Regions from separate parts of the Homo sapiens genome. Here region 1 is linked to region 2. Evidence: promoter capture Hi-C in 16 types of primary human blood cells and fetal thymus (Javierre and others, 2016). All regions are on one chromosome and are shown on one strand. The core of a region is centred on a gene start or on the middle of the fragment in contact, and the rest is flanking DNA. Distances in the headings are between cores, read along the strand shown. Region 1 overlaps LOC124903524 (a long non-coding RNA gene). Region 2 holds the start of ARID3B (AT-rich interaction domain 3B).

Region 1 (4,515 bases), core at 2,016-4,515, 170 kb after region 2:
TGGAGAGAGGTTTCTTTAAGGGAAAGATGAGGATGGAGCGGGGCAGGGGGCAGGATAGGAAGGAGCCTGGATACCTACCTGGTCTGGCTGCTGGGAGGTCAGTGAGAGCGAGGGGAGGGGCAGGCCAGAGTACTGGATTGGAATAGTCCCCGGGCCCCCTGCTGGGGAAACTGAGTTCTGGGAGGGACAAAGCTGTGCCGCACACCTGGCTACCTGAGGGACCCTGGAGCTTGGTCTGTCGCAGCACACCTGTGTCTGCGGGCAACACGGCCGATGGCCACTCCAGATGCTCGATCAATTCTGCAGCTTAGGCCAGTCTCAGAAGGCTCCGCAACACCTGCGCCAGGTCTCTGCGCCTTCCCCACGCGTTCACGCTCCAGGTCCTCACGCCTCTCAGCCCTGGCCTTGGTCCCGCCCCCTCATGGCCAGCCAATCCGAGAACCCCAGCAACCCCCTCGTCCAATGCGGCGCCTCCGGGTCCGCGCCCGCCCCGCCCCCTCCACCGCAGCCTCTGTAGGTGGATGCTTTCCGCTGCTCCGGCCGCCGGCGCCCGAAGCCAGCATCCCAGCTGCGGCCCCCACCAGGAGGTGCTGGAGGGGACTGCGGCTCGTGCCCCGGAGCCAGTCCTAGGCTCCGGAGCCAAGCGTGTCTCCCGGCCTCGTTCCCAGGATCTCCCTTCTGGAAGCCGCACCTTCTTCTCGTGCGCCCTCCCCACGGGCAGGGGATACATCCCGGAAGCGGTGCAGGGGAAGGCTCTGTGGACAGGGGCGCGGGCTCTGGCTTCAGCCCTGTTCTGGCTCTCCTGGATCCTCCCCTCAGGCCCTCAGCCTCCTTATCTGACAAACGGGGATTTGCGGCTGCCGGGGTTGGCTCTGGGACCATTTAGCCTACAGTGCGAGTTCGGACGGAACGGACCATGTAAACCAAATAAGTCCACTGTGGGCTGTGGCTGGCTCTCCCACTCCTTTCCTGGCCCCCCGGTAGGGCCCAGACTCAGCCCGGGGCCCCCAGTCCCCTGCCTCGCGAGCCCACCTCCTTCCTGCACGCGGGCGGCTGGGTGTCCGAGCCCGGCGCTGTTGCTGTGGGCTTTGGCTCCACCTAGTGGCACAAGGTTTGATCTGAGAGGCGCCGGCTGAGGCTCTGGAGTGAAGGAAGCGGTATCTGAATGGCTGAGAGAGAGACTGGAGCAAGGACAAAGTGGCATTTCTCTGCCTCAGCTTCTGCCGCAGACCTGGCTGAGGGTGGCCTCAGTCCACTCCGCCCTCTGGTTCCGAGGGGAGGCTGGGGTACTGTGCACTTGCCTGTGCTACTGTGTTAGCTTTTTCATGTTCTCCTTGTGGGGTGCTGTCCTTGTGCCACGTGGAAGCCTCTCATAGCCCGCTGGCCCCATGCACACCTGCCTGGAACACTGAGGCTATAGTCGTCGAATAAGTGTGGGCCACCGCTCTGTGGCCGACTATGTAAACCAGGCAGGTGGCCCTTCCCCTCCTGCCCCCACTACCTACTGTCCCCAGGAGGGAAGAGGTGCCCATGCCAACCTCCGTGGCTCACTGGTCTTGAATCTTAGTGCCCTTAGCAGCCCCAGCCACTGGTTGCAGTAAGAAGCTTCTTGCTTACATGACATGGCATGGCATGGCTTCTGTGCCCTTGTCTGACTGGCCCCATCCTCTTCCTCCTCTGGAACTGGACTCTGTCTCCATGGTCCAGCCACGATGGGTGTTTTTCCTTATGTGCCTGTGTAAAGGGGTGCGAGGTGTGTCAGGGGGAGGACAGGGAAGAGCTGTTGGCCTGGTTACTTATGTACTGCCCGCTAGAGAAGCCCGCAGCGGGGGCCTCCCAAGGGCCCATGTGAATATTTCACAGCTGAAGAAAAAATGATTGGCTCTCAAATAAGAACACTGCAAAATGGAAATCAATAAATTCTTAATCAAGTGTCCAACTGTAACATTATATCAACCTCATTAACTGTTAAATTTAGTATTCATAAAAATTTCATTACATCTGAAAGAATGTGTGGGCTAGGTTTTTCTCATTTCACAAGAATTCCCAATTGTAATTTAAATCAGTCACTCCTAGCCAAATGGTTTCAAGAGCAAAATTATAAATATCCTTTCAAAAACTTTACAGCAAATTTTTAATATTTTAACATGTTTGCACTGAGGAAGTGAAGTGAAGCTGTAAAAATAAAAATGAAGCTGAACGCGGTGGCACGCGCCTGTATTCCCAGCTACTCAGGAGGCCGAGCCAGGAGAATTGCTTGAGCCCAGGAGTTCAAAGCCAGCCTGGGCAATGTATAGAGGGGGACAAGGAGCCACAGTGTGCACCCAGGCAGGGAGTGCCTGGGTACTCATTCACCCTTCAAGTTGGGGTGTGGGGGTTCCTCTGGACTTACAGGAGTGATGAGGATTTAGAGGAGCAGGGAGAGGCTGCCCTGGGTAGCTAAGATTAGGGCTCAGGTTCCAGTTCACCATGTGGAGTTAAGTTCTCATAGGAGGGCTGCAATGGGTGGGCCCCTAGGAACAGCCCTCAGAGATGCCCTTTGCAGAGGCTCCCAACCTGGCAACACTCCTTTGCCGGGGGCTCTGGGCCTTTGACTTCTGGGTCCAGTCTTCTCCCCTCCTTTACCCCAATTACTCCTGCCCCTAAAGCTATGTCAACTCTGTCCCGTATTTCCCTTCATTTCACTCTTGTTGGACAGAAGGAATAGCCCAGGATCCATAAAAAGAAACAGTCCCCAAAGCAGGGACCCCTTTCCTCCAGGACACAGAACATTCAGTCTTCATAATCCCTGACTACATAAGCCCTGGCCCGGGCAGGAACAATGTGTTTCATTCCTTCCTTGGGAATGTCTCTTTACCATATGGCCACATGACCCCTCCCAAGGCCAAACAAACAAACAAACAGGAAAAACCCCAAACAGCAAAAGGAATCTATTTAATAATAGTTTTAACAGCCACATCTGATACTTAAGCTGAGAAATGCCATAACCTTGAGTCCCATCTCTAGGGCTGATTTCTCTCCAAACATCTTAGGTCCTTGCCTCTCCCTCCTCCCTTTAAACTGTTAGAGTGGGGTGACACCGAAACAGATGAAATGCCCTCAGAGAAAGAAATAGGGTGGAGTCGGGGGGACCATCTGACTTAGTGAAATACCCTGAGCTGTGCATGTGAAAACAAACAGGGAAAGAATCACCTAATTTTCATGTATGGTGTCCATACCCTAAGCTGAGCAAGAGGGTGATGTTTAAGGCAATGATATTAGGTGGGCTACTTTGAGAACCTCTGAATCTTTTAAGTGCTTTTTTTTATCTTGCAACAGCTCTGAGAGGCAGGTCTGATTATCTCCATTTTAAATATGAAAAAATTAAGTCTCAAGTAGCTCAAGTGTCTTGCCCTATGCCACGCGACCACTCAGTGGTTGAACTAGGATTTGAACCTGAGTCCATGTGGCTCCAAAACCGTTGCTTGTTTCATGATACAAAACTGTATTATTATGTCTATGGTCTGGCCAGCACCTCTGCTAGCGGATGTATTGCCATCCAGAGCAAAACGACATTGTCCAGCCTCCCTGTACCTACCTCCCTGTACCTAGGTACAGTCATGTGGTTACTGAATGGAAGGTCTTGACTGAGTTGTCCAGGTTCTTGGCATGTTAAAGAATTGAACAAAACGCACAAAGCAACAAAAGACAAAGCAACGAAAGAATGGAGTAATGAAGGCACAGATTTATTGAAGATGTGCAAGTACAATTCACAGAGCAAGAGTGGGCTTGAGCAAGTGGCTCAGGAGCCCCTTCAATTAGAGATTTTATTAAGCTAAAGAACATGAACACCCCCGGTGCCCTCCAGAGGCCTCCAATCAGTTACATCCAATGAAGGATTGATCCGTGACCAATTAGAGGCTTAAGTGGCGACTTGGCCTGTGGTTATCACAGAAGTGAAGATGTGGCCTGTATGTTGCCTAATCCTGCCTAGAATTGGCTGTACCTGCTGTGCCTTTTGCTTATGTGAACTGGCTGCACCTGCTCTTCTTTTGTTCCTACCTTAATCCTTGGTTGCCCTAATTCCCTATTCTCCTGCCTCAATGTGGTTAAGTTCCCACCAATCAGATATGGTTGGACTCGTGTGGGACTTTGAGGAAGGGGCTTAAATGAAGCTGGCTCTTCAGGGAGGGCCCCTTTTGGTCTTCTTGAGTTCTTCCGCCTTCTGGCCAGCAACACGGTTAATGCTCCAGCAGCAGCTTGGACCATCGGGTGGCCTTAGAAATGCCAACCAAATGTCTTCGTGGTGAAGCAGGAAGATGGAGCCTGGCATTTTGCTGGGACTGACACACTCACCCTGGACTGCCCAGCCTTGGACATCCTTTATGGGAGAGAGAATACACTTCTATCTTCTTTAAGTCTGTGATTTGGATTTTCTGTTTATCCATCCAAGCTGCCTGCAATGAATAAAATCATGTTCCCCGTCCTAGGCAACGTTTAGATGGGTCTAAATGTGTACACCCTCTACTCTGAGAA
Region 2 (4,827 bases), core at 525-3,024:
CATTTCTATTATGATATTCTCTGACAAACACAAAAAGAAAAGTCTTTCGGGCCAAAAGCATTCTGGGGGCAGGTTTATCTGCATTCTTACCAATCAGTCTCCAAACACACATCACTTTCACACCCTCTTCTCCTTTTACTCCCCCACCTCTCCCCTGCAGGCCCTCACCCCCAACAAACTTCACTTGAGTTATGTTTCTTCAGCAAGTCTCCATAACTGAATGGATTACTATGCAAGGGCAATTTTAGGTGAACAGGACTTGCAACATGGCGTACAATTTTGTCATCACATGAAAGAAGCTGCACTGCACATGTTGGGACTTGATATCTGCATTGTTCCAGTGTTTTAGGATTGGGTCGAAAGACAAAAAACAAAGTGTCTTTAGTATCTTCAAAAATTCACGGAGAAGTAATCACATCTTCAGCAATAAAAACTGCTTGGATTTAAGATTTTTTCCAGGTTAGAGTAAAAAAGGGTACAATTTTTAAAGCTAGGCCAATTAGTAGAGATTAAAAATTCTCATTTTCTGTTTATCTTATAGCCCTGTTTGTGCCTTTTGTGTTCTGTGAAAGATTCGCATTCCAATTTGCCTCTTACTGCCTTTACTTCCTCTCTTGGCACTTCAGAAAGTGTGAGTTACGCTTGCAGCAATACTTTCATTCTGCTTTAGCTCTTCTTACAGTGTAAAAAAGCATGACAAGATTTACATCCACATTAAATTCAGTTGGCAAAAGTGTTCATTTAAAATGAAAACAATTTGGGTCAAAGAAAATTACAGAATAAAGCAAATAATTCGGTGTTCATTTTAAATGTCCTCATAGTCATTACAGTCAATCAATCACGATCGGAATAACTTCTCAACCAAGTCCTGCCAGTCACTGAACAACTGCTTCTTGTCTTGTGGCACCATCTTCTCTGAATGCTGTCCCCAGCAGAGGGGGAGGTGTCCCTCCCACAGCCTCTTATAGTAAGACTGAGATGACTCAGTTCTACAACTCAATACACACACCCTCCCCCAAAGAGCCCATTTTCCCGCAGTCCCTAAGCAGCCAGCGATCCAAACAATGCCACCTGCCTACATTTGGAGAACTTATGTCTCAAATCTAAACCTCTTCATCCCTTCACACGGGCCCCTCCCCCATTTCCCCTAAAGTTCCCGGACCACCAAGCCGGGTACAACGGACTACCTGCAGCTTTGAACCCGGCCTGCTGACCATTCCCCTGCTTTTGCTGCCGGATTCTTTTGGCCCCGGGCCCCTGTAAGCCCCACAGCCCACCTTCCCGGTCACCCCTGCACGCCTCCCCCCATTCTTTATTCACCTCCCCCCATTCAGCCCTATCATTTTTACCTCTACCAACCCTCCCAGCCAATCCGCTGGCTCTTCCGATGGCCCCCGCCCCACCTATCTGCGCGCCCACTCAGCTCCAGGGCCCCTCACCCTTCTCATCGCTTTATCTCAAACGCTTTATCTCAAATGCCCTAATGGGCACAGGGCGCTCGGGGCTCCCGCGGCGCTCTCACTTTCCTTCGCGGTCCCCGCGCCCCCGACTCGCGCATTCCCCTCTCTCTCTACACCTGCCTCGGCTCCTGGCCTCGGCCCCTCCACCTGTCGCAGCCTCCTCTCCCGCCATGCCTGAGGGAGCCCGGACCCGGGCCACTTACCTGTGCGGGGCACTCCGGGTTTTCGGGCGGCGGAGGAGGCGGCAGCTCAGGCCCCGGCGCGGCAGCTGCGTCTCGGACTCCTCCGCAGCCGGGGGCCACAGCCGGGGCGGGGCCCGCACCGGAAGCGGCGCCGCGGGGCTGGACCGCCAGCCAGGGGCGGGGGCGGGGGCGGGGCGGGGCCACAGGGGGCGGGGCGGGACCGAAGCCGGAAGCTGCTAGAAAGGGACCGGGGGGCGGGGTGGGACGAGGCGGAAGTGACTCCTACGGACCGCGCAGCCCGACTGAGTTGTGGGAGGAAGCGAATGGAAGCGGGCGGAAGCCTCGGCCAATGGCAAAGTGCGGACACAGAGGGGTTCCGGTGTGAGCACTTCCGCGGGGAGTTGAAAAGAGCTGGGCGGGAGATCGTGTTCTCCGAGCGTTTTCTATTGCGGAGGTTGGTGTGGCTTGGGCGGTTGGCTGGGAGGAAAGTAACTAAAGAGCAGAGGAGTGTAGGGTTTGCCGTCGCTTCGGTCCCCTCCTCAATCTCCTGCCTTCAAGCCGGTCTTCCTCAGAGGTTCTCGTGTTTAGATCAGCTTGTCTCTAAACTTCTCCGCTCCTTCCTGGGACAGAGACCTGGCTGTCCCGAGAATGTTGCGTCCCTTGAAACTTTCTCACATGAATTAGTATTCTCAGGTCTCAGTTTGCAGAGGTCGGGATTATGTGCCAGGTGCTGTCACCTCTTGTAAAAACACTTGCTTCTTCAGCCCTTCCCCTTAGACTCTGTCACCTACTTCACCCCGTTTGGAGATAATCTGCCGATCTGTGTATCCAGCTCCTTGTCTGTCTCCCGTCTGACCATCTTTGATAATTTCAGAGCCTATGTGGCCAACCCATTCAACATCGGGCCTCGTCTTTAGCGACCCTTATATCAGCCTCCCAATCCCAGTTAAAACCTGGACCTTGTCCCTCCAAACGCTATCGCGTCACGACTCAGTAATTTGAACAACCCTCTTTTCAACCACAGCCTGCTATTCTCTCAGCTTGACTACTTTTGAATTATAGGCCTGATGCAGTAGCTCACGCCTGTAATTTCAGCACTTTGGAAGGCTGAGGCAGGCGAATCTCTTGGGCCCAGTAGTTGGAGAGCAGCCTGGGCAACAAGGCGATACCCCATCTCTACAAAAAATACAAAGTTTAATGAGGCGTTTTGGCGCATGCCTGTGGTCCCATCTACTCGGAAGGCTGAGGTGGGAGATCACCTGAGCCCAGGAGAGGCGGAGGTTGCAGTGAGCCATGATTGTGCCACTGCACTCCAGCCTGGGTGACAGAGACACTGTTCCCCCCCCCCAAAAAAAATAGAATTACAGCATAACTGTTATTACTGTTATTTCACTTTTTTTTTTTAGAAGGAGTCTTGCTCTGTCGCCCAGGCTGGAGTGCAGTGGCGCAACCTCAGCTCACTGCAACCTCCGCCTCCTGGGTTCAAGCAATTCTACTGCCTCAGCCTCTCGAGTAGCTAGGATTACAGGTGTGCGCCACCAAGCCAGCTAATTTTTGCATTTTTAGTAGAGACAGGTTTCGCCATGTTGGCCAGGCTGGTCTCGAAGTCCTGAACTCAGGTGATCCGCTCGCCTCGGCCTCCCATAGTGCTGGGATTACAGGCGTAAGCCACTGCACCCGGCCTGTTCTTTCACTTTATCAGAGCAGAGCATCTAATCGGTTGAAAGCCTCTACTTTATCTCTTATACATTAATCCCCTCTTCACTTCCTTCCTTATCCATTTTAGATTCAGTGGTACATTAATACAGTCCTGCCCCTACTTAATCTTAATCCCACCACAACACTCCTTTTTCCCCAACGAAATCCCTCACCCTGGATGGACCTATGTGTTTCTCCTTGCTTGTACCTTGTCATAGAAAGTTGTCCTGTTGCTGGGCGTGGTGGCTCATGCCTGTAATCCCAACACTTTGGGAGGCCGAGGTGGGCGGATCACGAGGTCAGGAGTTAGAAACCAGCCTGGCCAATATGGTGAAACCCCGTCTCTACTAAAAATACAAAAATTAGCTGGGTGTGGTGGCGCATGCCTGTAGTCCCAGCTACTGGGGAGGCTGAGGCAGAAGAATCGCTTGAACCTGGACGGCGGAGGTTGCAGTTAGCCGAGATCACGCCACTGCACTCCAGTCTGGGTGACAGAGCAAGATTTCATCTCAAAAACAAAAAAATTGTCCTGTTGAGGCCGAGCACGATGGCTCATGCCTGTAATCCCAGCACTTTGGGAGTCCGAGGCGGGTGGATCACCTGAGGTCAGGAGTTTGAGACCAGCCTGACCAACATGGTGAAACCCTGTCTACTAAAAATACAAAAATTAGCCGGGCGTGGTGGTGAAGACCTGTAATCCCTGCTACTCCAGAGGCTGAGGCAGGAGAGCTTGAACCTGAGAGGAGAGGTTGCAGTGAGCTGAGATTGCATCATTGCACTCCAGCCTGGGCAACAAGAGCAAAGCTCCACCTCAAAAAAAGAAAAAGTGTCCTGCTGAACAGATTGGCGTCACTACATTAATAAAGACCAACTTTAAATGGACTGTGGGTCAGGTGCGGCGGCTCACACCTGTAATCCCAGCACTTGGGAGGCTGAGGTGGGTGGATCATGAGGTCAGGAGTTCGAGACCAGCCTGGCCAACATTGTGAAACCCCGTCTCTATTAAAAATACAAAAATTAGCTGAGCGCAGTGGCAAGCACTTGTAATCCCAGCTACTTTGGAGGCTGAGGCAGAAGAATTGCTTGAACCCGGGAGGTGGAGTTTGCATTGAGCTGAGATCGCGCCACTGCACTCCAGCCGGGGTGACAGAGCAAGACTCCGTCTCAAAAAAAAAAAGGACTGTGAACTGTGACTAGAAATTTCATTATATTTTTCTAGTCAACTTGCTCTCCACGATCTCTACAAATCTCTGACCTATACCCTTACCACTTCCCCTGACTTCCTTATCATGTAAGTAACAGAAAATGTAGAATGTCCTGAAATCGAGAAACCTACTTACTTGCCTTCCCATCCTGTCCTTACCTCCTATTTATTCAATCAAAAATATTCATTCAACTCCCACTATATGCCAGACCAGGCACTCATGTAGGTGCTTACTGAGCAATGGACAAAACAAATTCCCTGCTCGCAAGGATCTTTACTAGTT

The links. Contacts are between HindIII fragments. The CHiCAGO score rates a contact against its expected background, and 5 or more counts as called.
Region 1: a contact is called between a fragment that was not itself captured here and the fragment with the promoter of ARID3B in region 2, in 11 of 17 cell types (megakaryocytes, erythroblasts, fetal thymus and 8 more). The highest score is 8.9, in megakaryocytes.

Annotation. Positions count from the first base shown.
Region 1 is chr15:74,370,402-74,374,916 of GRCh38, reverse strand. LOC124903524 (a long non-coding RNA gene) reads right to left here. Exons shown (of 2, transcript XR_007064709.1): 2 at 3,705-4,515. Among named protein-coding and RNA genes, the nearest start is that of CYP11A1, 5.0 kb to the right of the region's middle. RefSeq lists enhancers at 1-250, 732-781 and silencers at 382-441, 1,042-1,091. The HindIII fragment of the contact is 3,316 bases long and covers 1,608-4,515 here.
Region 2 is chr15:74,538,167-74,542,993 of GRCh38, reverse strand. ARID3B (AT-rich interaction domain 3B) reads right to left here and starts at 1,774. Exons shown (of 9, transcript NM_006465.4): 1 at 1,664-1,774. LOC124903528 (a long non-coding RNA gene) reads left to right here and starts at 1,906. Exons shown (of 2, transcript XR_007064719.1): 1 at 1,906-2,096. RefSeq lists enhancers at 779-838, 2,189-2,338, 1,913-2,454, 2,389-2,518 and silencers at 828-1,012, 1,529-1,888. The HindIII fragment of the contact is 12,648 bases long and covers 1-4,827 here.